Regions from separate parts of the Homo sapiens genome. Here regions 2, 3, 4, 5 and 6 are each linked to region 1. The links are contacts of gene promoters, found by promoter capture Hi-C in human tissues and cell types (Jung and others, 2019). All regions are on one chromosome and are shown on one strand. The core of a region is centred on a gene start or on the middle of the fragment in contact, and the rest is flanking DNA. Distances in the headings are between cores, read along the strand shown.

The links. Contacts are between HindIII fragments. The study calls those that stand out against the background at their distance.
Region 2: a contact is called between the fragment with the promoter of KCNJ14 here and a fragment that was not itself captured in region 1, in 1 of the 25 tissues and cell types used here (H1 embryonic stem cells).
Region 3: the fragment with the promoter of RCN3 here is called in contact with a fragment that was not itself captured in region 1 in 4 of the 25 tissues and cell types used here (dorsolateral prefrontal cortex, heart left ventricle, lymphoblastoid cells and 1 more).
Region 4: the fragment with the promoter of AKT1S1 here is called in contact with a fragment that was not itself captured in region 1 in 1 of the 25 tissues and cell types used here (dorsolateral prefrontal cortex).
Region 5: a contact is called between the fragment with the promoter of NOSIP here and a fragment that was not itself captured in region 1, in 1 of the 25 tissues and cell types used here (dorsolateral prefrontal cortex).
Region 6: the fragment with the promoter of EMP3 here is called in contact with a fragment that was not itself captured in region 1 in 3 of the 25 tissues and cell types used here (dorsolateral prefrontal cortex, lymphoblastoid cells and spleen).

Annotation. Positions count from the first base shown.
Region 1 is chr19:48,986,390-48,991,012 of GRCh38, reverse strand. It overlaps GYS1 (glycogen synthase 1), which reads left to right. Exons shown (of 16, transcript NM_002103.5): 3 at 3,628-3,819. Among named protein-coding and RNA genes, the nearest start is that of GYS1, 4.6 kb to the left of the region's middle. RefSeq lists an enhancer at 857-1,248 and a silencer at 2,379-2,561. The HindIII fragment of the contact is 7,422 bases long and covers 1-4,623 here.
Region 2 is chr19:48,453,989-48,458,575 of GRCh38, reverse strand. It overlaps KCNJ14 (potassium inwardly rectifying channel subfamily J member 14), which reads right to left and starts at 3,002. Exons shown (of 3, transcript NM_013348.4): 1 at 2,718-3,002. It overlaps GRWD1 (glutamate rich WD repeat containing 1), which reads right to left. Exons shown (of 7, transcript NM_031485.4): 7 at 1,554-4,587. The HindIII fragment of the contact is 6,064 bases long and covers 1-3,239 here.
Region 3 is chr19:49,526,064-49,530,996 of GRCh38, reverse strand. RCN3 (reticulocalbin 3) reads right to left here and starts at 2,994. Exons shown (of 7, transcript NM_020650.3): 1 at 2,939-2,994; 2 at 2,283-2,530. The coding sequence starts at 2,524. FCGRT (Fc gamma receptor and transporter) reads right to left here. Exons shown (of 7, transcript NM_001136019.3): 7 at 4,569-4,933. The coding sequence ends at 4,878. RefSeq lists a silencer at 2,917-3,036 and an enhancer at 2,500-3,078. The HindIII fragment of the contact is 21,368 bases long and covers 1-4,933 here.
Region 4 is chr19:49,876,105-49,881,035 of GRCh38, reverse strand. AKT1S1 (AKT1 substrate 1) reads left to right here and starts at 3,681. Exons shown (of 5, transcript NM_001098633.4): 1 at 3,681-3,799. It overlaps TBC1D17 (TBC1 domain family member 17), which reads right to left and starts at 3,334. Exons shown (of 17, transcript NM_024682.3): 1 at 3,292-3,334; 2 at 2,795-2,893; 3 at 2,464-2,538; 4 at 634-757. The coding sequence starts at 3,312. RefSeq lists a silencer at 2,848-3,137 and enhancers at 2,181-3,140, 3,358-3,697, 3,878-4,517, 4,101-4,931. The HindIII fragment of the contact is 21,916 bases long and covers 1-4,931 here.
Region 5 is chr19:49,577,242-49,582,051 of GRCh38, reverse strand. It overlaps NOSIP (nitric oxide synthase interacting protein), which reads left to right and starts at 1,496. Exons shown (of 9, transcript NM_001270960.2): 1 at 1,496-1,537. It overlaps PRRG2 (proline rich and Gla domain 2), which reads right to left and starts at 736. Exons shown (of 7, transcript NM_000951.3): 1 at 571-736. The HindIII fragment of the contact is 33,716 bases long and covers 1-4,810 here.
Region 6 is chr19:48,322,117-48,326,801 of GRCh38, reverse strand. It overlaps EMP3 (epithelial membrane protein 3 (MAM blood group)), which reads right to left and starts at 1,250. Exons shown (of 5, transcript NM_001425.3): 1 at 1,192-1,250. It overlaps LOC124904735 (a long non-coding RNA gene), which reads right to left. Exons shown (of 2, transcript XR_007067284.1): 2 at 3,280-4,012. RefSeq lists enhancers at 367-436, 727-776, 1,377-1,426, 4,327-4,386, 4,397-4,456 and 1 more and silencers at 2,004-2,235, 4,567-4,685. The HindIII fragment of the contact is 22,631 bases long and covers 1-4,685 here.

The DNA.
Region 1 (4,623 bases), core at 1,042-3,541:
AGACAGCCTGGTCAACATGGCGAAACCCCGTCTCTACCAAAAATACAAAAATTAGCTGGGTGTGGTGGCGGGTGCCTGTAATCCCAGCTACTCGGGAGGCTGAGGCAGGAGAATCGCTTGAACCCGGGAGGCGGAGGTTGCAGTGAGCTGCGATTGGGCCACTGCACTCCAGCCTGGGCGACGGAGCGAGACTCTGTCTCAGAAAAGAATGCCAGCCAGCCAGGCAGAGCTGGGGAGAAGTGGGCCTGAGGTCAGGAAGGAGCAGGATTCTGGAGCTTGAAGTTCAAGTTCACCCTCCACTTGCTGCCTGTGTGTCCTTGGCTAATGGACATGCTAATAGCGTCTACCTTCTAGCGGTGCTGGGAGGAGGAAACAGTTAATAAGGACAAAGTGGTTAGTAGAGTTCTTGGCATGAAGGTAGCACATTGTGTGGGCGGTGATTGTCATTGTTATGATCATCGTCATTATTGTTACTAACAGCCAAGCTTGGAGAGTGAGGGGGACAGGCAGACCAAGGGAGAAGGGTGGATGGAGCCACAGGCAAGAGTAATAGACTGGGGACAGAAGAGAGGCCACCAGATGTTTCAGAAAGCCAGTCCTAGAAGGAGAGAGAAGCATGGAATATCGGGGAAGAGAGGAGAGGTCAGTGGACAGACCCACAGGACAGAGTCTGAGATGGGCAGATCAGGGATTAGAGAGGAGGGGGAGTTCCAGGGCCCCAGGGTGAAGACGGAAAGAGACACGCTGTTGTCCAAGGAGAAAGCCATCAGGCGGCACGCTGTTGTCCAAGGAGAAAGCCATCAGGCGGCAGGGCTAAGGGACAGACAGGTCCAGGCTGGGGATGGAGAGGCACTGTGGTTCCTTTACTCATTCACAGCCTCTGGTTTGGGGTGGGGTCTGGAATCCATTCAGGTCCGACTGTGTCCCTAAGGGAACCCAGAACAGCCCAGTCGCTTCCTGAGGGCAGCTGCTTCCCACGTGCTGGGGGCCTAAGAATAGCCCCCCCCCCCCCCCAGCAAAAGGGCAGACAACAGCTGGGAGGGGGAGGGACCTCAGAGCGAGGCTCCAGGCAGCAAAAAGCCAGGTCGGCGAGGAGCGGGGCTGCTTCTCCACTGCTGTGGCAGCAGGCCCAGAACCAAAGCCATGGTCTCAGGGAGGAAAACAGCCAACTGGAGAAATGTGGCAGAGGCAGAAGTGAGACAGCAAGTCTTAGAAACACGGCAGTGGCTAGAAAAATGCAGCCCTGGGGCACGGACAGAGGATGGGCTATGTTAGAAATGTGTGGCGTGGCCGAGGGCGGTGGCTCATGCCTGGAATCCCAGCACTTTGGGAGGCCGAGGTGAGAGGATAGCTTGAGCCCAGGAGTTCCTGACCCACCTGGGCAACATGGCGAAACTCTGTCTCTACTAAAAATACAAAAAATTAGCCAGGCATGATGGTGCGTGCTCGTGATCCCAGTTACTCAGGAGGCTGAGGTGGGAGGATGGGATGTGGAGGCTGTAGTGAGCCATAATTTTTTTTTTTTTTTTTTCAGATAGAATCTCACTCTGTCGCTGAGTCTGGAGTGCAGTGGTACAATCTCGACTCACTGCAACCTCCGCCTCCCGCGTTCAAGCAATTCTCCTGCCTCGGCCTCCCAAGTAGCTGGGACCTCAGGCACATGCTGCCACGCCCGGCTAATTTTTTGTATTTTAGTAGAGACAGGGTTTCACCATGTTGCCCAGGCTGGTCTCAAACTCCTGAGCTCAGGCAATCCGCCCGCCTCGGCCCCCCAAAGAGCTAGGATTACAGGCGTGAGCCACCGCGCCCAGCCCAGTGAGCCATGATTGCACCACTGCACTCCAGCCTGGGTGACCGGAGTGAGACCCTGTCAAAAACAAAAACAAACAAAAAAAAATGGAAGAAAGAAAGAAAAAGGAGAGAGGGAGGGAAGGAGGGAGAGAGGGAAGGAAGGAAGGAAGGAAGCAAGGAAGGAAGGAAGGAGGCTGTGGACTACAAAATGGGCCTATGGATAGAGGAAAGAGGTCGCAGGTGACAGATATGTGATGAAAGGAACAGAAACAAGGCATCATGGGGAAGAAAAGTGGCAGCATGAACAGTAAGAGAATCATTACAGGCTGGGTGCAGTAGCTCACGCCTGTAATCCCAGCACTTTGGTAGGCTGAGGCCAGGAGTTTGAGACCAGCCTGGGCAACATGGTGAAACCCTGTCCTTACAAAAAAGTTAAAAATTAGCCGGGATGTGATACCTTGTGCCTGTGGTCCCAGCTACGTGGGAAGCTGCGGTGGAAGGATTGCTTGAGCCTGGGAGATCGAAGCTTCAGTGAACCGTAATTGCACCACTCCCTTCCAGGCTGGAGGACAGAGCAAGACCCCGTCTCTGAAAATAAAAAAGGGCCTGCTTTAGGTGGCTCACACTTCTAATCTCAACACTTTGGGAGGCTAAGCAAGAAAACTGCTTGAACGCAGGAGTTCACGATCAGCCTGGGCAACATAGTGAGACCCCATCTCCACAAAAAATTAAAAAATCAGCCTGGCATGGTGGCCCACGCCTGTAGGAGGTGAGGTGGGAGGATTGACTGAGCCAGGGAGGTTGAGGCTATAGTGAACCATGTTCACACCACTGCACTCCAGCCTGGGCAACAGAGCGAGACCCTGTCTGAAAACAAAAAAGAAGCATCCCGTGGAAGGAATTAGCATCAGAAAGAAAAGACAGTGGGAGATGCAGATGGTTGGTAAGAGAAATGTGGCAGCAAGTACAGAAACAAGGCAGCAGGTAGGGGAAATGATTTGCAGAGTGGCCAGACAGGGCAGTGGGGGCATAGACACAGGACATGTGACATATGTGGTTATAAGCAGAGAAAGGAGGCAGCGAGTGGGAGAAGGGTAGCAGTTACAGGAATTAAACAGGAGGCTGGGTGCGGTGGCTCACGCCTGTAATCCCAGCACTTTGGGACGCCGAGGCGGGCGGATCACAAGGTCGGGAAATGGAGATCATCCTGGCTAACACAGTGAAACCTCGTCTCTACTGAAAATACAAAAAAAAGTAGCCGGGCGTGGTGGCGGGCCGCTGTAGTCCCAGCTACTCGGGAGGCTGAGGCAGGAGAATGGTGTGAACCCAGGAGGCAGAGGTTGCAGTGAGCCGAGATCATGCCACGGCACTCCAGCCTGGGCAACAGAGCCAGACTCCGTCTCAAGAAAAAAAAAAAATTAGCCAGGTGTGGGAGCGGGTGCCTGTAATCCCAGCTACTTGGGAGGCTGAGGCAGGAGAATTGCTTGAACCCGGGAGACAGAGGTTGCAGTGAGCTGAGATCGCACCACTGCACTCCAGCCTGGGCCACAGAGTGAGACTCCATCTCAAAAAAAAGAAAGAAAGAAAGTAAGCAGGGGGCACGGAAAATATTGCAACAGAGATGGAAAAAATGTGTAGCAGGAATAAATCATGCAAATAGAGAAGTAAGGCTAAGGCAGCAGGTGAGAAATTAGCAGCAGATATGGAAACAGAAGATAAGAGAGCTGAGGCTTAAGTCTATAGACATCTGCCTGCAAATGGGAGAACCACGGATGAGTGAAGATATGAGGCTGAAGCCCAGAGCCTCCCTATGGTGCCTCCCCAACCCCATCCCAGGTGTATTTCGGGCGCTGGCTGATCGAGGGAGGCCCTCTGGTGGTGCTCCTGGACGTGGGTGCCTCAGCTTGGGCCCTGGAGCGCTGGAAGGGAGAGCTCTGGGATACCTGCAACATCGGAGTGCCGTGGTACGACCGCGAGGCCAACGACGCTGTCCTCTTTGGCTTTCTGACCACCTGGTTCCTGGGTGAGGTAGGCCCCGTCTGACACATTCCACCCATACCTGAAACTACAATGACCATCAGCCCCTGGGCCAGAGGATGGGCTTCTCCCTGGGCATTCTGGGAGTCATAGGGTCCTTTAATCCAAGGATTAGCTCTGGCCTTTGAGGACATGAACATCCAAGGGCCCAGGCTCTACTCTCGATGCCAACTTCATTTACTCTAGTCTTCCAAGCATAGGGATTCTTGGAATCAGCCTCAAAGTGAGGCTGGCGGGCTTGCCCGAGGAATTCTAGGAGTTGTAGTTCTCTAGTGTGATATTGCTGGACTCAGCTCTCAGATGCTGCCCTGGATGCTCATGAATCCCCAGCCTGACCTGGTTTTGACCCCCTTCTAGGTTTTAAGAGGCTCAAGAAGCTTAGTTTCCAGGCTGGGCACGGTGGCTCATGCCTGTAATCCCAGCACTTTGGGAGGCCGATGGGGGAAGATCACGTGAGGCCAGGAGTTCAAGATGGCCAAACCTCGTCTTTACTAAACATACAAAAAAATTAGCTGGGTGTGGTGGTGGGCACCTGTAATCCCAAATCCCAGCTACTTGGGAGGCTGAGACAGGAGAATTGCTTGAACCTGGGAGGCGGGAATTGCAGTGAGCTGAGATTGCATCACGGCACTCCAGCCTGGGCCACAGAGTGAGACACTGTCTCAAAAAAAAAAAGAAAAAGAAAAAAAAAAAAAGAAGCTTAATTTCTCATGCCCTGGGACAAATAATTGAGGAACTGGCTGCTCCTATGGCATTCTGGGAGTTGTAGTCCCTTTGCCAATGTTGGGTGCAGAC
Region 2 (4,587 bases), core at 1,753-4,252, 530 kb after region 1:
TAGCCGGGCCTGGTGGTGCACATCTGTAGTCCCAGCTACTCTGGAGGCTGAGGCACAAAAAAAGTAGGCAAAGGATCTGTACAGACGTTTCTCCAAAGAAGGTATACAAATGGCTCATAAACATATGAAAAGATGCTCAACATCATTAGCCATCAGAGAAATGCAAATCAAAAGCACAAAGGAATACCATTTTGCACCCACTTAGAATGGCTATAATAAAAAAAACAAGTGTTGGCGAGAATGTGGAGAAATTGGCATCCTCATACACTGCTGTGGGGAATGAAAAATTGCAGCTGCTGTAGGAAGCAGTCTGGCAGTTACTTAAATGGTTAAACATAGAATTACCACATCACCCAGCAATTGCACTCCTACTTATGTACCCAAGAGAAATGAAAACAGATGCAAAAACTGGTACACAAATGTTCACAGCAGCATTACTCATAATAGCCAAAAGGTGGAAACCCAAGTATCAACCAACTAATGAATAAATAAAATGTGGTATATTCATCCAATGAATAGTATTTGACAATAAAGAGAAATGAAGTATCGATAGATGCAACAACATGGATAAACCTTGAAAACATTATGCTGGCCAGGTGCGGTGGCTCGCACCTGTAATCCCAGGACTTTGGGAGGCCAAGGTAGGCAGATCATTTGAGGTCAGGAGTTCGAGACCAGCTTGGCCAACATGGTGAAACCCCGTCTCCACTAAAAATAACAAAAATTAGCCGGGTATGGTGATTACAGGCGCGCACCTGTAATCCCAGCTACTCGGGAGGCTGAGGTGGGAGAATCACTTGAACCCGGGAGGTGGAGGTTGCAGTGAGCTGAGAGTGCACGAGTGCACTCGAGCTTGGGCGACAAAGCAAGACTCCATTTAAAAAAAAAAAATTAATTGTGATGGCTGCACAATTGTGAATACACTAAAAGCCATTGAATTGTACCCTGTAGTGAGTGTATGATATGATATGTGAATTAGATTTCAATGAAGCTATTGTAAAATAAATGAAATGGGCCTCATGCCCGACCCTCTGATCTTTGGCAACTCTTTCTGAGTCTCGGTTTCCTCCATTGTAAGGTGGGGAAATTGGGACTTCTTAAAAGACCAGGAAGGGCCTTCTTACCATATGGATGAGGGCCCAGTCCTGGCTTAGTTGCTCACCCACCATGTCCCCTGGGATCTCTGGCTTCTTTTTCCAGAGACTCAGTTTGCTCAACCATTTACTAGGTGTGTGATGGATGACAGGTCAAATCCTTTCCTGAGCCTCAGCTCTCATCTGTGAAAGGCAGGAGGCCTGGGGGCTGGGCATGGTGGCTCACACCTGTAATCCCAGCACTCTGGGAGGCCAAGGTGGGAGGACTGTTGGAACCCGGGAGTCTGAAACCAGCTTAGGGAACATGGCGAGACCCTATCTTAAAAACAAAAAGTATCCAGCCATGGTGATGCAGCTACTGTGGAGACTGAGGTGGGGGATCACTTGAGCCCAGAGTTCAAGGCTGCAGTGAGCTATGATGCTCTACCACTGCACTGCAGCCTGGGCAACAGAGCAAGACCCTATCTCTTAAAGAAAAAAAAAAAAAAAAGAGGGCAGGTGCGGTGGCTCACACCTGTAATCCTAGCACTTTGGGAGTCCAACTCAGGAGGAATGCGTGAGGCCAGGGGTTTGAGAACCAGCCTGGGGAAGACAGCAAAACCCTGTCTCTAAAAAATAAATAAATAATTAAAAATAAAAAATAAAGGAAGAAAAGAAATGGAGGGAATCGCAGCAGCCTGTCAGGGTGGACCAAAGGAAAGGGCTGGGCATGGACCCGCACCCCTCATTGCCTTCAGGGTTCACTGCAACGTTACCAAACGCTTGGCCCTGTGGTGGGGAACTTCCCAGGAACTGGCTGGATCAGGACAAACCATTCCAGGGGTTAAATAATTTGTGCTGGAACCTGGGGATCCTCAGGGGCTTCTTGGCAGGGCCTGGCACACTCCATTTGGAAAGAAGACCATGAGACAATGTCAAGTTTGGCACCAACTGGGTCTCCCAAAGCCCTGCACCTGCTTCCCACAACCACGCAGGCAGCCTGGCCATTCGCGAGGGTTCATTAGGCCCACTTGACAGAGGCAAGGCTGAGGTGAGGGGACCAGCCTGGCTGTGTCCAGTGCCCACAGTGTACCCCAACCTTGACTCTATCTCACCCCTGACAACCCTGCATGTTAGAGACTGTTCTCCCAAAAAGGGGAAATAGGCTCGTTGCCCAAGGGGGCGGCCTGGAGGTCAACATCAGGATGCAGCATCTACACCTGCAGCCCTCCCCAGCCTGGGGATCCCCACTCAGCACTGACTCCACCCTCAGGAACCACCCCCGTGGGCTGGGGGGGCAGGTGGGCACTGACACTGACCTGTGCTCCCCAGGCCCCAGCCTGGGCCTCTCACCCCCACTTGCCCATCTCTCACCAAAGCCCTTTGATGAAGGGACCTGGCTTTTCACAGAAAAGCCAACTGGGGCTGAGGTTAGTCCCTTGTCGCAGGTCTCTCAGCCAGTGGGGAGAGGAGTGGCAAAAGCTAGCCTCCCACCCAGGCCTCCTGGGAGCCACGGCCCGAGTGACAAACCACAGTCTTCTCAAGAGCACTCTGGTTTCAAACACACCTGGTATGTACGAGGCCTCGTGATGAGCTCCCGACATGCCCACAGCCCCCACTGGACTCTCAGACCCCACTGCTCACCTTGGCCGCTCAGGATGCCGGGAGGTGAAGATCATCACCCCCTTTCACAGTTGGGGAACAGGCTCAGGGAACGCCATGAGCTGGCCAGGCCCCCGCAGTGCCAGGGGGAATGCTGGTTGGGTCCTAAGCCTTTCTTTCCTTCCCAGAGTTCTGCCCTCGAAATCCTCCAGTCCCACCTCAGCCCCGTGAGGCAGACCCGTTGTCTACTTCCCAAAGCCAACGGGAACCTTCACCAGGGGGCCATCTGCGGCCAACATGGCCCAGCTCCCAGGCTGGCTGCGACTCAGGCTCAGGGCACCCCCCTCCCCTAGCAAAAGCAGGGCGGGAGGGAAAGGGATCCTCCACCTGACCTGCGAGAGCAGCTTAATGTTTCCATATAAAGGAGATACAGGGCTTAAGGTGCTTCAACTTCGTGTCAAAGTCACTGTCTAATCTGAGGCCAAGAAGCCCCGCCCCCAGGCCCCACCCTCACCCTCCCAAATCAACACTCTCACTCTTCCGAAACCAGGGGTGTTCCCCACCACTCCCCACCTACTGGTGGGGGCTGGACAGCAGGTTGGAAAGCAGAGACTACAGAAAGACAAAGAGATGCAGAGATAGGCAGGAGGAGGGGTGTTGAGAGGGTGCCCCAAGAAAAAGTACAGGGACCAAGCAGGACAGGGACCCTGAGAGAGAGGGGGACAGAGACCCAGAGAGGGCAGCAGGAAAGGGACATTGATCCAGAGAGAAAGGGACAGAGACCTTGAGAGAGGACAGAGACCCAGAGAGAGGGGAACAGAGACCTTGAGAGGATAGAGACTCAGAGACAGAGGGGGACAGAGACCCAGAGAGAGGGGGGGACAGAGACCTAGATGGAGGGGGACAGAGAAGATAGAGGCGGACAGGGCAATTGGGAAAACGAAAAGGAGAAAAGAAATGTTTTAAGAAATGGCGACATGGGGAGATGAAATTGTGAAGACAGAGAGAGGCAGAGAGAGATGGGAGAGACAGAGATGGGGGAGAGAGACAGAGACAGAGACAGACAGACTGAGAGGGTTTCTCTGAAAGGATGGAAGCCAGTGAGAAAATGCATAAAATGGGGATGGGGTGAGAGTTGGAGGCACTGAACCTGGGGGTGGATTCTCCTGGCGCTGAGCCTGTCACTGATGGGAAGACAAGGCCTTCTTGAAGGGGACAAGCTGAGGACAGGGATGCTGGGGCAGGGGTGGATGGGGGCGACGCAGCAGAGCAGGAGGGGATGGCTCAGCGGTGCCTTGCATGGAGGCACGTACCTGTTGGGGCGGCCCACCCCCATGCCCTCCGCTGGGGGCTCCTCGGCTAGGGCTGAGGGGAAGCCTCTGTGGGTGCTGAGGGGCTGTAGTCTGTCCTTGGTCCCAGGGGCCGTGTGACGGGCACCCGACCTCGGAGTCCACAGATGGATCAGAGGCTGGATGGAGGGGGGCCGGGGGTGGGGCTAGCTCAGAGCCGCAGAGGGGGAGCCAGGGAGGCCAGCCAGGCAGAGCGGCTGGGCCACAGCCCAGGCAGGCTGGACAGGAGACAGCGGCGGAGGAGCGAGACAGCGACTAGGGGGCAGGGAGACTGGCAGTGGGGGACGGGAGACTCTGAAAGAGGGGGACACAGAGAAGAAAGAAAGAAACGTGATAAAGGGGAGATGGACGGAGGGAGAAATGGGGGGTCCAGAGTTCCCTGAGATGAAGCCTTCATAAGCTGGTGGGGGTCAGGGATGAGGCCCCTTTCACTAAGCCAGAGTGAGTTCCAGATGGAAGGACACTTAGAGAAGGCAGAACGCGGCGGCACCCAGTGGGCGGAAGGTTGGGTTGCACTGGACTCCCAGTGGCCTCCCCCAGCCTAGCGGCCTGGGGGCAGCTGG
Region 3 (4,933 bases), core at 1,745-4,244, 540 kb before region 1:
CCTTTCTCACTGAGTTCCAGCCACACGGGCCTCAGAACTGTTGCTCTGACACTCCAAGCCCACTCCTGCCTCAGGGCCTTTGCACTTAACTGTTCTGTCTGCCTGGAATGCTATTCACTCCGATACCCACATGGCTCAAATACCACATACCACCTTCTCATGGAGGCCTTGTCCAAGTTCCCTGTTTAAAATTGCAGCTCCAGCCGGGTGCGGTGGCTCATGCCTATAATCCCAGCACTTCGGGAGGCCGAGGTGGGCAGATCACCTGAGGTCAGGAGGTCGATACCAGCCTGACCAACATGGAGAAACCCCATCTCTACTAAAAATACAAAATTAGCCGGGCATGGTGGTGCATGCCTGTAATCCCAGCTACTCGGAAGGCTGAGGCAGGAGAATCACTTGAACCCAGGAGGCGGAGGTTGTGGTGAGCCGAGATTGCGCCACTGCACTCCAGCCTGGGCAACAAGAGCAAAACTCCGTCTCAAAAAAAAAAAAAAAAGAAAAAAAAGAAAAATTACCTGGGCCTGGGCTGGGTGCTGTGGCTCACGCATTAATTCCAGCACTTTGGGAGGCCAAGGCGGGCGGATTGCCTGAGCTCAGGAGCTCGAGACCAGCCTGGGCAACACAGTGAAACCCCATCTCTACTAAAATACAAAAAAAAAAAAAAAAATTAGCTGGGCGTGTGGGCGTGCACCCATAGTCCCAGCTACTCGGAAGGCTGAGGCAGGAGAATTGCTTGAACCTGGGAGGCAGAGGTTGCATGAGCTGAGATCACGCCACTGCACTCTAGCCCGGGAGACAGAGTCTCACTCTGTCTCCAAAAAAAAAAAAGGAAAGAAAAAAAACTTTGCTGGATGTGGAGGCGTTCACTTGTAGCTAGGACTTGTAGCGTTCACTTGTAGCTAGGACTCTAGCTACTAGGGAGTACGAGGCAGAACAACTGGTTGAACCCGGGAGGCGGAGGTTCCACTGAGCCGAGATCACGTCACTGCACTCCAGCCTGGGTGACAGAGCGAGACTCCATCTCAAAAACAACAACAACAAAAATAAAAATAAAAAATAAAAATACAAAATTAGCTGGGCGTGGTGGCTAGCGCCTGTAATCCCAGCTACTTGGGAGGCTGAGACAGGACAATTGCTTGAGCCCAGGAGGTGGAGGTTGCAGTGAGCCGAGATCGCACCACTGCACTCCAGCCTGGGTGACAGAGCGAGACTCCATCTCAATAAGTAAATAAATAAATAAATAAATAAATAAAAATTGCAACTCCCCCCCACCAACAACCTCTCCCCTCCACACTTTCTGACTCTCTTGCTTTATCTTTCTTGGATGCATTTATCTCTATTTGATCCACTTTCTACTTATTGACTTCTTGCTGTTTCCCTCACCACAGTGTAAACTTCAGGAGGACAGATGTGTTAGCTGTTGTGACTTCAGCACCTAGAGCAGTGCCTGGCACATAGCAGGTGCTCGATAAACCTTTGCAGGCTCAATCAGTGTCAGGAGGATGCACAGAAGAAGGCGGCTGCTCCCATCGCGCCCCCCTGCGCTCAGGCCTGGACGGAGAGGGTGGACAGGGCTCCATTCCACCCAGCTCACCCTGAAACTCAGGGCTCTGCCACTCTCCTGCACTGGCCGGGCTCCTTAAAGGCCAAACCTCATTTTCCACACCAGTCCCTGCCATTTACAGAGCAGGAAACTGAGGCTTGGGGAGGGGAGATGTCTGGGACAAAAGAATAAGGAGCGCTTAGGGGGCAGAATCTAACCCAGATTTTGCTGCCCTCAAAGGTCCTCTTTTTTATTGTTGTTGTTGTTTTTTAGACGGAGTCTCACTTTGTCGCCCTGACTGGAGGGCAGTGGTGCAATTTTGGCTCACTGCAACCTCCACCTCCCAGGTTCAAGCGATTCTCCTGCCTCAGCCTCCCGAGTAGCTGGGATTACAGGTGCCCACCACCACGCCTGCCTAATTTTGTATTTTTAGTAGAGACGGGATTTCACCATGTTGGCCAGGCTGTTCTCGAACTCCTGACCTCAAGTGATCGGCCTGCCTTGGCCTCCCAAAGTGCTGGGATTACAGGCATGAGCCACCACGCCCGGTCTCAAAGGTCCTCTTTAGGCCTCAATTTTAACTTAATTTCTTTTTCCCAAGGATAGAAGGTAGAATTTCATTTCTCACAAAGAAATGAAGTTCAGTCCACGCCATTTCTCTGACCCCTGTCGATACCCCCGCGTCTCTCTCCTAAGCCCCACCTCTGGACACGCCCCAACCGAATGTCTCTCTTACCCCAGACGGGCCTGGCTTTCCTCTGGGGTGAGTTGGTCGAATTCCTTGGCCACTTCCCGTCCCAGGAAAGCCTCATGGTCGTACTGGAAGTTCCCGTGGGCGTCATCATGGGGAGCGTCGCTCAGGGGGGCCGCCTGGTGCACCCTCCCCTGGCCATGAGGGCCTGCGTCTGGGGATGGCTTCCCCTGGGCCCCGTGCCTCAGTAGCAACAGAAGCAGCAGAACTGATGGTCGCCACATCATCGGTCCCTGGGGAGTGGCAAAGGCCAGGGGTCAGGGGTCACAGGGATGGGGACAGACACGGGATAGGAGAATGGCGGGGTGGAGGGGTTACCTAGGACAGGACAGGGAGTTGGAAGTTGGCTGCAAGCTTTCGGGCTCAAAAAGGGCGGGCGATGGGGGAAAAGAGGGCGGGATGCTTAGAGGTAAAGCCACCTATGGGGAGGACCGAATCTTCTGACGGAGTCTCAGGGGGGTCCCAGACCTGCCAGGGGGAATTACAGAGACAGACGTGGCGCACATCCCACGCAAGGTGCAGGGCATAGTTGTGGCCAGCGAGAGGTCAGGCAGGCTCCCCGTCATTGCTCCCAGTCCGGACCCTGGTCCTCGACCCGAGCCGCCCTCCCTGGACAGAGGCCCCCCACCCACTCCCTTTACCCTGTTATCCAGCTTCGCTCCGCTCTCCACGCTCCGCTCTGCGTTCCCGCAAATGTGCCCAATTCGGCCGCTCTCCAGTCAGGCCCCGCCTCTGGCAGCGCAGAGCCCCGCCCCCCGCCCAATGAGCTCGCACGAGCGTCTCACGGGGCGGGGCCAATGAGTGCACGGGGTGCCGCGGGCACTCCTCGCCACGTCCACAAAGGAAACCGCGGCCTGCCCGGGGAAGAAGGGTGGGCGACACCGCAGTGACGCGGCCGGGGAGAACTACAACTCCTGGCAGTCGTCGCGGCACTCTGCCGTCCACCTCCAGCTGTTCTAGTCACAACGCCTCACGGGAAATGTATTTTTCCCTTTCCCTTTGTCAGGATGGTTTAAGAAAGAGGTGTACGTTCCAACACTTCTATACCAAACAAAACAAAACAAAACAAAAATAAACAAAAAGAACGAAAGAAAAGAAAAAAGGCCGGGCGCGGTGGCTCACGCCTGTAATCCCAGAACTTTGGGAGGCCGAGGCGGGCGGATCGCCTGAGGTCGGGAGTTCGAGACCAGCCTGATCAACACGGAGAAACCCCATCTCTACTAAACATACAAAATTAGCCGGGTGTGGTGGCGCATGTCTTTAATCCCAGCTACTTTGGGAGGCTGAGGCAGGAGAATTGCTTGAACCTGGGAGGCGGAGGTTGTGGTGAGCCGAGATCGCACCATTGCATTCCAGCCTGGGCAACAAGAGCGAAACTCCGTCTCAAAAAAAAAAAGAAAGAAAAGAAAAGAAAAGAAAAGGGAGAGCAGAATCAAGGGGCCGGAGGAAATATCCCATTTCCTCCAAGAGTGAACACTGCTCCTCGCTCCTCTTCGGCTCCAAGGATTCAGGTGGTCAGACAGTAGCCAAGAATTCCTCAAAATGCCTGGCATGGCAGTCATCCAGTAAATATTTGTAAAAGTTATGAATTAAAAATACATGACCTCAGGTTGAGCACAGTAGCTCAATGCCTGTAATCCCAGAACTTTGGGAAGCTGAGGCAGGTGGATCACCTGAGGTCAGGAGTTCCAGACCAGCCTGACCAACATGGTGAAACCCCGTCTCTACTAAATACAAAAAATTAGCCGGGTGTGGTGGTGCATGCCTGTAATCCCAGCTACTTGGGAGGCAGGAGAATTGCTTGAACCTGGGAGGCGGAGGTTGCAGTGAGCTGAGATCACGCAATTGTACTCCAGTCTGAGCAACAAGAGCAAAACTCTGTCTTAAAAAAAAAAAAAAAAAGTGACCTTAGGCCGGGCGCGGTGGCTCACACTTGTAATCCCACCCCTTTGGGAGGCAGAGGCGGGTGGATCATGAGGTCAGGAGATCGAGACCATCCTGGCTAACATGGTGAAACCCCGTCTGTACTAAAAATACAAAAAATTAGCCAGGCATGGTGGCAGGCGCCTGTAGTCCCAGCTACTCGGGAGCCTGAGGCAGGAGAATGGCGTGAACCCAGGGAGGCGGAGCTTACAGTGAGCCGAGATCGCGCCACAGGACTCCGGACTGAGCAACAGAGCAAGACTCCGTCTAAAAAAAAAGAAAAAAGAAAAAGAAAAAGAAAATACATGACCTGATGTATAAAACTGGCAGGTTCCCCTGTGGCAGCATGTTACCTGTAGGAGAGATCCGAGGCCCAGCCGCCATTCAGTCCCCCGACTTATTCCCTTACCTCCCCTGCCTGAAAAATGATGAGAACACACTGATTCGGGCCCAAACTCGTGTTATATTATCGAGGTGGAAAACAGCCATATGTATTAGGAGGGGAAACTGAGGCAGACCACAGGACGGGGCTCCAGAGGGAGGACAACTAGGCCCAGAACCCCTTCTGGAGGCTCAGAGATGCCAGTGTTCCAGGAGGTCTCACAGCATGAAAGGGGCCTGACTACATTCGCTTTTAGCAGTCGGAATGGCGGATGGTCAGGCGGTGGCTGGAATCACATTTACATCCTTCAAATCAGCATCCTGGGCCTCCC
Region 4 (4,931 bases), core at 2,432-4,931, 890 kb before region 1:
AAGGGCCCTATTCCTCAACCTGGCACTCGAGGCCCCTCGGGTCTGTCCTTCGCCCCTGCCTATCTTACCTCCAACCTTTCTTCACTCAAAATCCCACACTTGAGCTACAATGAAAGGCCAGCGGCTCCCTAAACACACGGGGGCCGCCTGCCTCTGGCTTGCACGGGCTGCTCTCTCTGCCAGAAGAGAAAACTCCCAAGAGTCCCTCAGTGCCAAGCTCCAGCATCACCTCTTCCTGGAAGGAATCTCCATTCCCCAGAGGGGTCACGTGCCTTCTCTGGATGTCCCCTGCACCCTGTGTGACCCCAGGATGGTGCAAATCACCCTAACTGGCTGCATCTGTCACCCCACCAGCCTCGAACCTCAGGGGCAGGCCTGGTGTGGGAGCACCCACAGCCAATCCGGGAGCCCAGTAGGATGAGCAAGGCTGCAGTCTCAGAGACACTGGCCATGTTGACCTGGGCTGGGACAGTCCTGTCTTCCCATTCACTTCCATGCTCCTGGGACTGGAAGGTGGTGACTGGTGGCCTTCTTGATTGTGGGCAGCAAAGCCCTTGGGACCGTGACCACTGAGGGCAAGATGTGTCCTACCTGGCCCACACGTGCTTCTCAAGGGCCGCCACCTCAGCCTACCTCTCGTGGGCTCTGAGTGGCAGAGCTGTGGCCGCACAGTGCTGATGACAGCCCAGTCAGGTTCATAGCCGGGGTCAAAGGTTGGTTCCTCCTCAGAAGCACATGAGTCACCCCCACTGGAGTCCTTAGGAGAGGAAAGGAGCAGACAGTAAGGGGCCATGGATTCAGATCTTAGCCTCGAGGCTACCCTGGAAGATAGCCCCATTGAATAAAGAGGGAAACTGAGGCACAAAGAAGGTACAGCAGGCCGGGTGCGGTGGCTCACGCCTGTAATCCCAGCACTTTGGGAGGCTGAGGCGGGCGGATCACCTGAGGTCGGGAGTTCGAGACCAGCCTGACCAATATGGAGAAACCTCGTTTCTACTAAAAAAATACAAAAAAATTAGCCAGGCATGGTGGCGCATGCCTGTAATCCCAGCTACTCGGGAGGGTGAGAAAGGAAAATCGCTTGAACCTGGGAGGCGGAGGTTGCAGTGAGCTGAGATGGCGCCATTGCACTCCAGCCTGGGCAACAAGAGCAAATTCTGTCTCATTAAAAAAAAAAAAAAAAAAAGAAAAAAGAAAGTACAGCACTTGCTCAGGGTCACCCAATGCAGCCAGAGAGCGAGCCAGGACTTGACCCCATGTCTCCCACTGCATGGGGAGGTCCATGCTACACAGCAGGTGGCTCTGCAGTCAGGCTGCGGAGTGCTCAATGGACACTGTTGTACTCACCAGGTAAATACAAACCAAAACCACAATAAGATACCACTTTGCACTCTTTTGAGACAGTGAGACTGTCAAAAAAAAAAAAAAAAAACAATAACAACAACAAAAAAAACACACTACATTTCCCAGGTTTCTTTGCAGCTGGAATCCAGGACACAGGACAAATTCTACCAACCAGATGCAGGCCAACCTGGAAAGCGGAAGTGATGTAACGCAACTTCCTGGTGCCTTGGCTGTGTTTGGCTGTGGAGCAAGGTGGAGAGTCATCTTCATCTTCATCTTCATCCTCCTGCCCTGGGGCAGCGCAGGTGGTCAGCTCAGCCTTCCAGTGTCTCGTCACTAGCTCTGTGGGTGCCGACTGACTTCCGGCCCCTGGGTGGAACTCATCAGCTCCAATGGAGGTCTCATTCCCCACTAAAGAACCCCCCTACAGAGGCATCCAACTTCTCCGTGTGCCTTGAAGGTTGTTCTGCTGTCCCTGAAATACCTTCTTGTCCTTTCATATCCTGGGAGTCCCAGCTCAAATGTCTGCTCTCCCAGGAAGCGTTGGGGATCTGGAATCAGACTGTCTGGGTGCAAAAAGTTCCAACACTTCCTAGCGTTTTCGACCTCATCTATCAGTTTCTCAAAAAGTGAGTAAGGGTCAGGGCTTAGGTGGGTCTGGATCTGACTTATCTCTGGGTCTCAGAATTGCCCAGGACGGGGTCCAGCCATGGGAAGTCCCAGGAGACATAACGAAGGGAAAGCCGGGAGCAGTGACGAAGTGGGTGAGTAGGCTGTCAGGCCCTGTCCTCTGGCACCAGAGGAAATGCCATTTCCCTTCAAGCAACTCGAATCCACATCTTGCACCCTGGCAGGGATCTCCCAAGAAGCAAAGGGAGAGAGGGGTCAGCCGTCCCCACGACCGTGCGTCTTATGCTCCCTGCTCTTTTTCCTTGAATGGGCATCCTCTGCCCATTTCACAGAGAGGAGCAAAAGGAGAGGCAGAGTACCCAAGCCTAAACAGGGTCACACATGCCCCACGAGTAGGTCTGGGATTGTACGCAGGTCCCTCAAATGACTTACAACAGCACGGACCTAGAAAAAAAGCGAGTGGAGAAGGGCAAAGCGGGTGGAGCCTACCTTCTTGGAGAAGAGGATTTGGGTGGAATCTCCAGCCTCCTCTACAGGAGCCCAGTGCAGGAGGACGTCATTGTCCTAGGGTAAGGAGGGAGGCGGGGTTAGAGGCGCTCCCCAAACCACATTCCCAAAACTTTCCGTTGCAAATTTCCAAACTTTCCCAGTTTCTACCCTCAGCCTTTCAAAGTCCCGCCCCTCATTCCAGTTCCCACACCCAGCCTTCTTCAGGTCCCACTGCTGACCGCCAGACCAAACTCCTACAGCTGCCGCCTGCATCCCAGACCGCCTGCATCCCGCTCGGAGCGGGTCCGAGCCCTGCTCCCTCCCAGCGCACCTTTTCCACGACACGGATGACACCAGCGATGAGAGAGTCTCGGTCCTGATACTTCTTAGCGCTGGTGTGCAGGTACACTCCGCCCTTCTCAAACACCACCTGAGTTGGGGGGAACCAGCGAGGGCTGGGGCCCAAGCGAGGGGACCAGCCTGGGGAGCCAATAGGGACGGGCCCAGGGAGGAGCCACCCTCAGGGGGCGGGGCCGGGAGGGCCATTGCCCCGGGACCAAGGCGGGGAGAATGGTCCAGCCCGCGTTCGGATGCTGACGTGCGTTCCACAGGGGGCAGGGCTCAAGGAGTCGCCTGAGCCGGGGGGGCGGGGCCATGGGAGGTTCTTCCCTGGGGCGGTGGACGGGAGGGTGACGGCGCGTTTATAAGAGATCGGTGTTTGCCAAGGCCGTGCCGGATTCTCGAGAGCCAAGGCCTGAGAGAAGAGCTGATCACTAGACGGGGCGTTTCGCATACACTGAAGCGAGGGAATGCGTCCTCAGTGCTTACCCTGTAGCCGGCTCCTTCCATAGTCGCCGCCGAAGGCCCCACTGCCCCGCCTCCTCCTTTTCCTAGTCAGCGTGTTGTCACTTCCGGAGAAAACAGTTCCCCTCCGGGCCGGACAGTGGTAGCGGCCCGACCCGTTCTAGAGAAGGAGCGGGTGAAACCATTTTTCAGAAGGGGGTTATTCCACTGGAACCTCGAGGGTGGATCGGAGTCACGTGGCGCAGACGCTGAAGGTGGATCCGGCTACGGAGAGTGCGCAGGCGCAGTGTTCGCCCTCTCGCCACGAAGTAAACAAGTGGGAGGGTCTGAGAGCTGCACCACCTGGGGCAAGCACGCCTTGAAACGCCCACTTCCTTCTCCATATTGTATACTGGAATTGAAGCCAAGGAGGTACCATTTTGCTCGAGGGCATGGCCTAAGCCGGTCAGCTAAGGCCATGTTAATACGGGGCTGTCCCATCTCTCTGCGGGGCGCGACAGCTGGAAGAGCCGAACGGATAAGAGAAGAGGAGGTGAGAGGAGCTGTACACCACAAGAGGCACTGAGGGACTCAGGATAACGGGATGAAGCCGTCAGTGCCCCCAGAAACGAAGCGGCCCCGGACGAATTTCTGAGTCACCGTCGCGAGAAAGCGGGCTGAGCCGCCATTTTGAAGCCTGGCAAACCGAAGCAAGAAATGCTGCCGTGTTGGATCTTTGCCAGCCTTCGTGCCGAATGGGAGCAGGTTGGAGGGAGGGAGAGCCAATATACACTATGGGCTGATTAAGCCCGGTTGGCTGCCATGTTGTTAACGAGCACCGATTTCCTCTACTTTTGTCGAAGAAGTTTATTGTGGGTCAGGGACGTCAGGTCGCTTGCCTTCGTTTACTGTGGTCATGATTGAGCATATGAGGACGGCCATTATTGTTGGGGGCAAATGGAAATGCTCTAGGCGGGGCCATTTTTCTTAGGGGCAAGCTGTCGTCACCCTTGTCAACTGGTTCGGATGAAGCCCCTGTGGCCGCCATCTTGATCTCGGGCGGCCCCGATAAGGGAGGCGGAGTGTGCGGAGAGGAGGCGGGGCAACTGCGCGGACGTGACGCAAGGCGCCGCCATGTCTTTTGAGGGCGGTGACGGCGCCGGGCCGGCCATGCTGGCTACGGGCACGTGAGTGGAGGCGGCGTTGTTAACCGCGGTGTGGGGAGGATTTGGCCGTCCTGAGGCAGCGGGGCGCTGGGAGGGCGAGCGGCTCACGGGAGGGGTATGGCCTGCACAGATCAGAGGGCAGAGGTCTGCCAGCGATCCTTTGCTGAGCGCTGGAAGGGGGTCGCCCGTGGGAATCGTCCTGTCAGACCTGAGGCAAATCGTAGACAGTCTCACCTTGCGGTTCCAGAGCGCCTGGGATCTCTACCTGGGCCGTGGACCACGTCCACGGGGTCGGGGGATGGTTTGGGGGGCCTCGGGGCGCCCCTCACCCGTCCAAAGGCGGGACTTCCGGTCCTGGCCTCCGTCTGGGCGGGATTTCCTGTTTTCTTCCTAGACCAGTGGGTCCTCCCTGGACCCCGGGCGAGGTTGGGAGGTCTCGGGGCAGCTGAGCGTGGCCCCAGGCGCTCACCCCATGGCTACCGCGTTCATGCTCAGGTTCCTCACATCTTGGGGTGTGGG
Region 5 (4,810 bases), core at 247-2,746, 590 kb before region 1:
GCCAGGCTGGTCTCAAACTCCTGACCTCAAGTGATCCACCCGCCTCGGCCTCCCAAAGTGCTGGGATTACAGGTGTGAGCCACTGCGCCCGACCAGGAGTCCTATTATTATCCCCAGTATAGAGAACAGGAAACTGAGGCACAGAGAGGTAATATAGCTTGCCGAAGGTCACACAGTGTGCAAGTGTGAGAGCCAGGATTTCAGTGAAGGCAGTGTCCGCCAGAGAAGAAAGCAAGGAGCAGGCAGCTTATCTTTCTTTCCCCACTGTGTCTACAGCACCTGACACAGATGCTTATAAACATGTCCACTGGTGATCTGGAGTCTTCCCTTCCTGGTAATTTCCACTTGTGCCTCTTTCTGTGCTCATTGTCACATCCACCCACAGACAACAAAGATTACGAGAGAGGCAGAGGCAGGGGATTAGTTATATTATTGGGTCTAGGGACCTAAGTGGGCAGGGGCCCTGGACTCCTGGGCCTAGGAGCCCCAAACTTCTGGGTCTCGGAGGGGCGGGGAGCCAGGATGCCTGGGTCCCCAAGCCAGGCTCTTCCTCCAGGGACATTCACTTACCTGCCCAGAAATGTGAGCACTGCCCCTTCCTCTTTAATCGAGAACTCCTTGGCCAGCTACAGCCAGCTGTGAAAGGGGACAGGGAAGAGGGGAGGGGATAAGGAGGAGGGGCGCCCCACTCCCGGTAACCAGGCCTGATCCCCGTTTCTGGCAGGTGGGCGGAACTTGCCATTACCTGCCCTGGGCGGGACTCAGGTAAGGGACAAAGTATTTAAAGGGACCTTGGGATAAAGGACTTAAAGGCCAGAGCTCCATGAGGAAGCCAAGGTGTCGAATACCATGGGATACCTGGGGGATTAGATTCGACCCTCCTCCTCCCTCCCGACCCCTACCCGCTCTGGCTCTCCCCTGGGAGTTCGTCTGTCCGAGCTAGAAAAATTAATATCTAGGTCTCTAGGTATCTAGAAACTAGCGGGAACGATATGCCTTAGTCCCTGGGACAGCTGGGCAGTGCCGCAGTAAATCCCTGTTTCCTGAGAGCGACTTGAACGGCTTTGATTTTCAATTTCCCAATGGCTCTGTCTGTAAAATGGGAGCGTAGTTGTCTCTTCTCAATTGTTTTAAGATGCAGCAAGAAAAGTGGATGATATATTTGGGAAAGTGGGCTTCCCGATCTCTAGGGGAAGTGATTAGTCCTTAAATTTGGGCTTGGAGAGACTCAAAACCTGGGAACCAAGCAGGAAAAAACGATCTCCCTGGGAAATGCCTCGTACATAGTAAGCGTTCCCCATATTCCCACCAGTTTCAATATCCGGAACTTTCGATTAGCTACTCACGTTTCCGGAGAGAGAAAGAGAAGAGAGGACTTGAGCAAGCCAGGCGAGGCACTTCCGCAACTAGGGGCAGCTCTACTTCCGGTGCCTTCTGCTGGGCGGAAGTGGGCGGAGCGGAGGGGGAAAATAGTGCTCCTTTCCGGTGTCGGGGCACAGTTGAAGAAGCGACCGAGGGACTGGGAGTCGTTAGTGAGGTGAGTTCGAGGCGGTGCAGGAAGAGTGTTGCTGGGATCGCTTTCCTGCGGGCTAGAGGCCTGGGGTCTTGAGGGAGACTGGGGCAAGATTTTGGATTCCCGATTCCCTGTCAATCATTATTAATACAGCTGTCCGGGCGCCCCAAGTTTGAAGCTGAACTACACTCTGCTGGAGGTGGCCAACCGTCCATCGGGCAGTTCTCTCTCTCTTTGTCTCTCTCTCTCACTATAAACTCAGTCAAGTGGTAGCTAGCATCGGCCAGTTCTCCTGAGAGTTACAGTTCTGCTGTAGATGATGGCTATTTGCTGGTGGTCCCAAGGGAAGGAGTGGACTGGGATTGCTGGGGGTCTAAGGAGTGGGAGTTGAGGAGGGAGAACTCCTTTCCTGGCCTCAGTTTCTCAGACTGTGGTGGGACGGCGGGCGATACTAGATTGTGCAGTCATCCATCGCCACCTTCTCTTCACCTTTTTGACAGCCCCTTCCCTTTCGGGGTTGGTGCAGGGATTCACGTTTTCTTGTGTGGAGCTTCGGGGTCAGGCAGTCATGGATTCCCATTCTGATTGTGCTGCTAATTCTGTGAACTTGGGGCTTGAACGGTCCTTGAGGCAGTTTGATGTTAATGTTTTCTTACGAAAATGTTCAAACTTATATAAAAGTGAGAGAAGAATACAGGAATTCCTGTCACCCAAATCACCAATGATTATTTTTGCCATACTTGCTGTATTTTTTTAAACTTAAAGAGATTAAAACAAATCGTAGGCATCATGACACTTAAGGATTGTCAAAAGACAAAATTGCAACACATTTAGTGAGAAGATCTTAATTGGCATTTATTCGTGAATCTACAATCAAACAACATCTAATTATGGAAAATAGCGTGAGTGTTCCGATGAGCTGAGCAGAGGTTGTTTTCAGAGACAAAGGGCTGAGAAAATCAGAAACGGAAAACAAAAAGCTAGTTGATTAAATTGATTAACTTGATTAAATTTCTAAGTTAAAGGTTAAAGTAGAGGGGACTTCCTTTATCAGGTGGGCTAAAACTGGGTTGTTTGGGGATTTGGCTATTATCTCTCTCCTGATATCTCAGAAGATCAGATATCAACTTAGTTTTGGCTTGGAAGCATGGAACTTTAGCATGAGTGTCTCCATTTTGGTTTGGTCTGTTGAACCTAGTGCAGGAGCTCAATCCAAACCAATGACCTTCTATAAATTTTATCTAACAGGGTGCGTGTGTAAAAACCAGAAACATTGCTGATATGACCACAATACCATCATCACACTTTAAAAGAACAACCGTAATTCTAGACTACTATCCATTACGTGGTGCAGAGTCAAGTCCAGTGTAACTGTGGGTTTGTTGGAATCAGGATATAGTTAAGTAATTGCTATCGTCTTTTACATCTCTCTTAATTTAGAACTGTTCCCCCTTCCACTCCACTTTGGTTATTTCTTGGTGTAATCGATTCATTGAAGAAACTAATTCTAGTTCAGTTGATCATCCCACCATCTGAATTTGTCCCGTTTGCTTTTTTGTGGTCTCATTTTACCTGCTTCTGTTTTCTTTCTTTTTTTTTTTAAGTATTTAAAAATAGGCCAGACACAGTGGCTCATGCCTGTAATCCCAGCACTTTGGGAGGCCAAGGCGGGCGGATCATGAGATCAGGAGATCAAGACCATCCTGGCTAACACGGTGAAACCCCTTAGCCGGGCATGATGGCAGGCACCTGTAGTCCCAGCTACTCAGGAGGCTGAGGCAGGAGAATTGCGTGAACCCGGGAGGCAGAGCTTGCAGTGAGCCGAGATCACGCCACTGCACTCTAGCCTGGGCGACAGAGTGAGACTCTGTCTCAAAAAAAAAAAAGAAAAAATAGATAGAGACAAGGTGTCACTATGTTGCCCAGGCTGGTCTCAAACTCCTGGGCTTAAGCGATCCTCCTGCCTTGGCCTCCCAAAGTGCTGTGCTTAGATTACAGGTGTGAGCCATTGAGCCCGGCCTCATTTTACTTGTTTCCTCATGCCAGGGATCAGCTAATTATGTTCTACAGACCAAACTCAAATCCTGCCAGCTACCTGTTTTAAAAATCCCCATTGGGCAGGCACAGTGGCTCATGCCTGTAATCCTTGCACTTTGGGAGGTGAAGGCAGGTGGATCATCTGAGGTCAGGAGTTCGAAACCAGCCTGGCCAACATGGTAAAACCTCATCTCTACTAAAAATACAAAAATTGGCTGGTCATGGTGGCTGGCACCTATAATCCCAGCTACTCAGGAGGCTGAGGCAGGAGAATTGCTTGAACCCTAGGGACAGAGGTTGCAGTGAGCTGAGATCATGCCACTTCACTCCAGCCTGGGCAAAAGAGCATAACTCCCTCTCAAAAAAAAAAAGCATTAGTGGGATATGATTTACCTAACATATAGTTCACCCATTGAAAATATACAATTCAGTGGTGTTTAGTACGTTGACAGAGTTGTGCAACCATCAACACTATCATTTTAAGAATATTTTCATCACCCAAAAAGAAACCCTGGTACTCATTAGCAGTCATTCCCTATTTCCTCCCAATCCTTCCCACCCCAGTCTTTGGCAGCCACTACTCTGCTATATCTGTGGATTTGCCTAATCTGGGTATTTTGCACAAATGAAACCATAAAATATTATTGTGACTGCCTTCCTTCTTTCATTTAGCATGTTTTCAAGGTTCACCTATGTTGTGGCATGTATCAATACTTCTTTTTTTTTTTTTTTTTCCCGAGACACGGCCTTGCTCTGTTACCCAGGCTGGAGTGCAGTGGTTCGATCATGGCTCACTGCAGCCTCAACCTCCTGGGTTCAAGTGATCCTCCTGCCTTGGCCTCCCAAAGTACTGGGATTACAGGTGTGAGCCATCGGCGCCCAGCCAGCTACTTTATTCTTTTTATGGCTGGATAATATTCCTTTACCCAAGATATACTTCTTTTCTTTTTTTTTCTTTTTTTGAGACAGAGTCTTGCTCTGTCACCCAGGCTGGAGTGCAGTGGCGTGATCTCGGCTCCCAGGTTTGAGCGACTCTCCTGCCTCAGCCTCCCGACTAGCTGGGGCTACAGGCATGCGCTACCACGCCTAGCTAATTTTTGTATTTTTAGTAGAGATGGGGTTTCGCCATGTTGGCCAGGATGGTCTCGATTTCTTGACCTCATGATCCGCCCGCTTTGGCCTCCCAAAGTGCTGGGATTACAGGCATGAGCCACCGCGCCCCGCCTGCATGGATGTATGTTTTTATTTCTATTGGCAGTG
Region 6 (4,685 bases), core at 1-2,500, 660 kb after region 1:
TCAAGAGGTTGGCACAGGCCAGGCACACTCACGCCTATAACCCCAGCACTTTGGGAGGCCGAGGCGGGAGGATCACCTGAGGTCAGGAGATCGAGACCAGCCTGGCCAACATGGTGAAACCCCATCTCTACTAAAAATACAAAATTAGCTGGGTGTGGTGGTGCACACCTGTAATCCCAGCTACTCGGGAGGCTGAGGCAGGAGAATCACTGGAATCCAGGAGGCAAAGGTTGCAATGAGCCAAGATCATGCCATTGCACTCCAGCCTGGGTGACAGAGAAAGACTCCGTCTCAAAAAAAAAAAAAAATTTGGCATAAAGGCAGGTGAGATGTCTCCTGATGGAGGAAGGGCATGGGTGCAGACTCCTGGGTCTCTCAGGGAGGAGACCGCTGGGGCCTGGATTCCTGAGATCCCCATTGGCTGGAGGGGTGGAGAGGGCCAAAGATGGACTCTTGGGTTCCTTGAATGAGGAGGACTAGCAATGTGGCTCCTCTCTCCCCAGAACCCTGACTCTGGGTTACATACAGGCCAGATAGTGAAAATTCAAGTTGAGACCCCACCCTGCACCCCGACATCAGGATTGAGGAGCTGCCCCCAGCAACAGGCATTCTTGACTCACACCACTCCTCTCCTGGGTTGAGGGGAGGAGGGGGACCTGGTGAGTCATCTGGTGACTCATCCCCACCCCCCCCCATCTCTAAGCACCAGGGAAACCCCAGCCCCTGGCTATGTCCACGAGGTCCTCACCCCACCCTGCTGCCAGACTGGTGACTGTTGGACATCTTCTGGAGGAAATGGATAGGATTCGCGCTGGGGGGAAGAGAGGCCCAAGAAGGAGTTAGCCTCCCAGGACTCTTTGGTGCCCAGGAACAGGGGACCTAGAGGTCTCCCAGATTTGGGGTGTTCTCATGCAATGCCCTGATCTCAGGGACCCCAGAGGACAGTGGACACCGCTGAGGGAAAAACTGCAGGAAGTTTTCCAGTGGAGGGCTCTGCTGGGACCCCAAAACTTTGCCGGGCCCCACCCCTTCCCATATCCCCACCTCAAGTGCTAAGAGATCACTTATTAAATTAAAAGGATTTCCAAGAGTCAGGGACGTCTCTCCCAGCCTGGGGGTGTCCTTCCCAAACTGCTACATTCCCAAGTAAATTAAGAAGTCCCAGCCCTGAATAACGGACTGGAAACTTACCGAGAGCCGCGAAAAAAGTCAGAGCTGGAGTCGGAGTCTTGTCCCTCGCTCGGGCCTCCGTGCCCCGCCCTTCTCCTCCCTCCTTTCACCCTCCCGAGGCCCCCGCCTCTCTCACCGCCTTCCTCCCTCCCTTGCTCTCCCCTCCAATCCAGAACCCTTTCTCTCTCGCTCGCTCTCCTTCTGCGTCTCTTCTCTCCCTCCTGCCCTCACTGTCTGGGCCTCCTTCTCTCTTGCTCCCGTTTCTCTTTCTCTCCTCCTCTCAATATATACTGACCCTTTTATAAACCCACCCTCACCGCACCCAGCTGAGGTCGGCTGCCAGTGGGAGGGCCCAGGCACTCCGGTTCCTCTTTCTTTGGGCCCCCACCCAATCCCTCCAGACAGACATCATCTGGGGCTCCCTCCCAGGGTTGAGATGAGAAACTCTTGGAATGGGGTTCTTGGGGGGGGCAAGCGTCAGGGGTGGGAGGGCCCGATTCTCAGGACCCTTGAGTTTTGAGGTCTTGCCCTGGGGCCGGATGTCTGCTTTCCCTGATGGAGCTTGGAGCTGGATAGGAGTCTGGGAAAAGAGGCCAGATTTCTGTGGCATGGACTTGAGATTGGGCTGGTGAAGTTGGCCCCGTGGTGGGGGGTCAGAGGATGGGAGATGAAATTTGTGAAACTCGGCAGGGCGTTGTGGCTCACGCCTGTAATCCCAGCACTTTGGGAGGCCGAGACGGGCAGATCATCTGAGGTCAGGAGTTCGAGACCAGCCTGGCCAACATGGTGGAAACCCGTCTCTATCAAAAATACAAAAATTAGCCGGGCGTGGTGGCGGGCGACTGTAATCCCAGCTACTTGGGAGGCTGAGCCATGAGAATCGCTTGAACGCGAGAGGTGGAGGCTGCAGTGAGTTGAGTTTGCACCACTGCCTTCCAACCTGGGGGACAAAGTGAGATTCTGTCGCAAAAAAAAAACAAAACAAAACAAAAAACAAACAAACAAAAAAAAAAACCTTGTGAAACTCTGGAAGCGGGGAGGAAGCGGAAGCTAAGAATCCCAGCGCCATCATTTCCTGGTTCAGTGACCTTGAGCCAATTATTTCACCCACCTGGGCTCCAGTATCTTAGTCTATGTTGAGAGTATAATAATGCTGACAAAATACTAATACTGATAATAATAATTCTGATACTTATGCTGAATGAATAAGGTAATACTGGCACACTCACACACCTAACCTGTTCCTTCCTTCATCAAACATTTATTGAACATGTACTCTGATCTGGGAGTTAATAATGAAAACAGACATGAGCCCTGCTGGTATTATGGAGCTTGTATTCTAGTAGAGGAAGACAGACAAGAGAAAACATCAATGATGAAGATAAATCTCAGATAAGGATAAGTGACTTGAAAAATAAATACAATAGGCTGGACGTGGTGGCTCATGCCTGTAATCTCAGCACTTTGGGAGGCCAAGGCTGGAGGATCACCTGAGGTCGAGAGTTCAAGACCAGCCTGGCCAACATGGTGAAACCCTGTCTCTACTAAAAATACAAAAATTAGCCAGGCATGGTAGTGGGCGCCTGTAACCCAGCTACTCAGGAGGCTGAGACAGGAGAATTGCTTGAACCCGGGAGGCGGAGGTTGCAGTAAGCTGAAATCACGCTACTGCACTCCATCCTGGGTGACAGAGCAAGACTCCATCTTAAAGAAAAAAAAAAATAAAAGAAGAAAAGAAAAATAAATACAATAATAAATCAAACAGAGTGATGGAGATAATGACAGAGTGCAGGGAAGACTACTTGAAACAGGAAAATCAGGGAAGGCCTCTTGGAGGAGGTAACATTTGAGCTGAAGACAGGAGTCATTTGAACGCTGGGGTTGGGGAGTGGTGGGGGGGCGTCGGGGGGAGAGGAAGTGCAAAAGCTCTTAAAGCTTTTGAGAACAAGCTCAGGTTGTTTAGGGAGCAGACAGAAGGGCCAGTGTGGCTGGAGCACAGGGAGACAGAGGGAGTGGTGAGAAGGGAAATCAAAGGGTGCCCTTGAAGACTAGGGGAGGGGCTTGGATTTCATTCTAAGTGCAGTGGAAAGCCATTAGGTTTTAACAGAGTGTAGTACCAAAGATTTTTATTTTTTTTTTGAGATGGAGTCTTGCTCTGTCATCCAGGCTGGAGTGCAGTGGCATGATCTCAGCTCACTGCAACCTCCACCTCCCGGTTCAAGCGATTCTCCTGCCTCAGCCTCCTGAGTAGCTGGGATTACAGGTGCCCGCCACCACGCCCAGCCAATTTTTGTATTTTTAGTAGAGACGGGGGTTTCTCCATGTTGGCCAGGCTGGCCTCGAACTCCTGACCTCCAGTGATCTGCCTGCCTTGGCCTCCCAAAATGATGGGATTACAGGCGTAAGACACTGTGCCTGGCCCCAAAGGTTTACTGTTAACTATTATTATTAATTTTGGGGATATTAAATTAGGGTCGGGGTGATGACTACTATGTACACGAGTCTCTTGGGAGGGGACCAGGTGCCCAGAACTCTGATAAATTGAGAGCAGGGGAATTCAAATCCTGGATCCAGGGAAGGGAACTGGATGATGGGATGTCTGGGTATCTGATGGGCCAGAGCTGGGTTTGGGATAGCTGTTGGTGATTCGGGCTCCCTGAGGGGGTGAGGGATGGACAGTTCAGTGCTTGGCTGGGTACCCCAAGACCTGGAAGCTGGAATACCAGTATAGCACAGACTCTAGAGCCACACTGGTTGGACTCAAAATCCAAGCTGTTTTACTCAATGGCTGTGTAATTTTTGGCAAGTTACTAATAACTTCTCTATGCCTCAGTCTCTTCATCTGAAAAATAGAGATAATAGTAAATACATTATAGGGCAGTTCTTAGGGTAGTGCTAGTCATATCAGGCATTGGGGCTCTGAGTGGAGTCAGTACTGGGGGACCCTGATTCAGGATCTCTAGGAGTTGGGGAAGGGGCAAATTCTTGGGTCCATTGGGTCTCAAGGCTAAAGTTGGGAATCCAAAATGAGGGTCCCTGGGGGAGAATAAGTAGTCTCAAACTTAAGTGCCTGAGAGACAGAAACTGGGGTCCGCACTCAGATCCCTAAGGAAGTTGCAAAGTCTGGGTCACTGAAGGAAAAATTAGGGGCTGGGGAGACATACGTTCCTCTTGGGGAGCAGGAAAAGAGGGCTCCACTTTCTTGAGAGGACTAGGGGGAGCCAGGGGCTAGGAAGATGGAAACTTGAGCCGGGGAGGTGAAAAACACGAGTCTAGGACTCAGAATCAAGTTCCCTGAGTGGGATCGGCGCCAGGCTTGGGTACCCTGGGGATATTAGGGGGGTCCCCGCACTATGGCTATGTAGAAGGGGAAGAATCAAAGGATCTGAGGGTGGCGGCGGGATCTCCCCATCCTGGGCCTCCGAGATTATGAGCTGAGCTGAGCGTACGCAGGCCGCTTCCTCCCACAGGAAACCGCAGGCTTCGGGCACACCCAGCCTGCAGGGAGAGGCGCC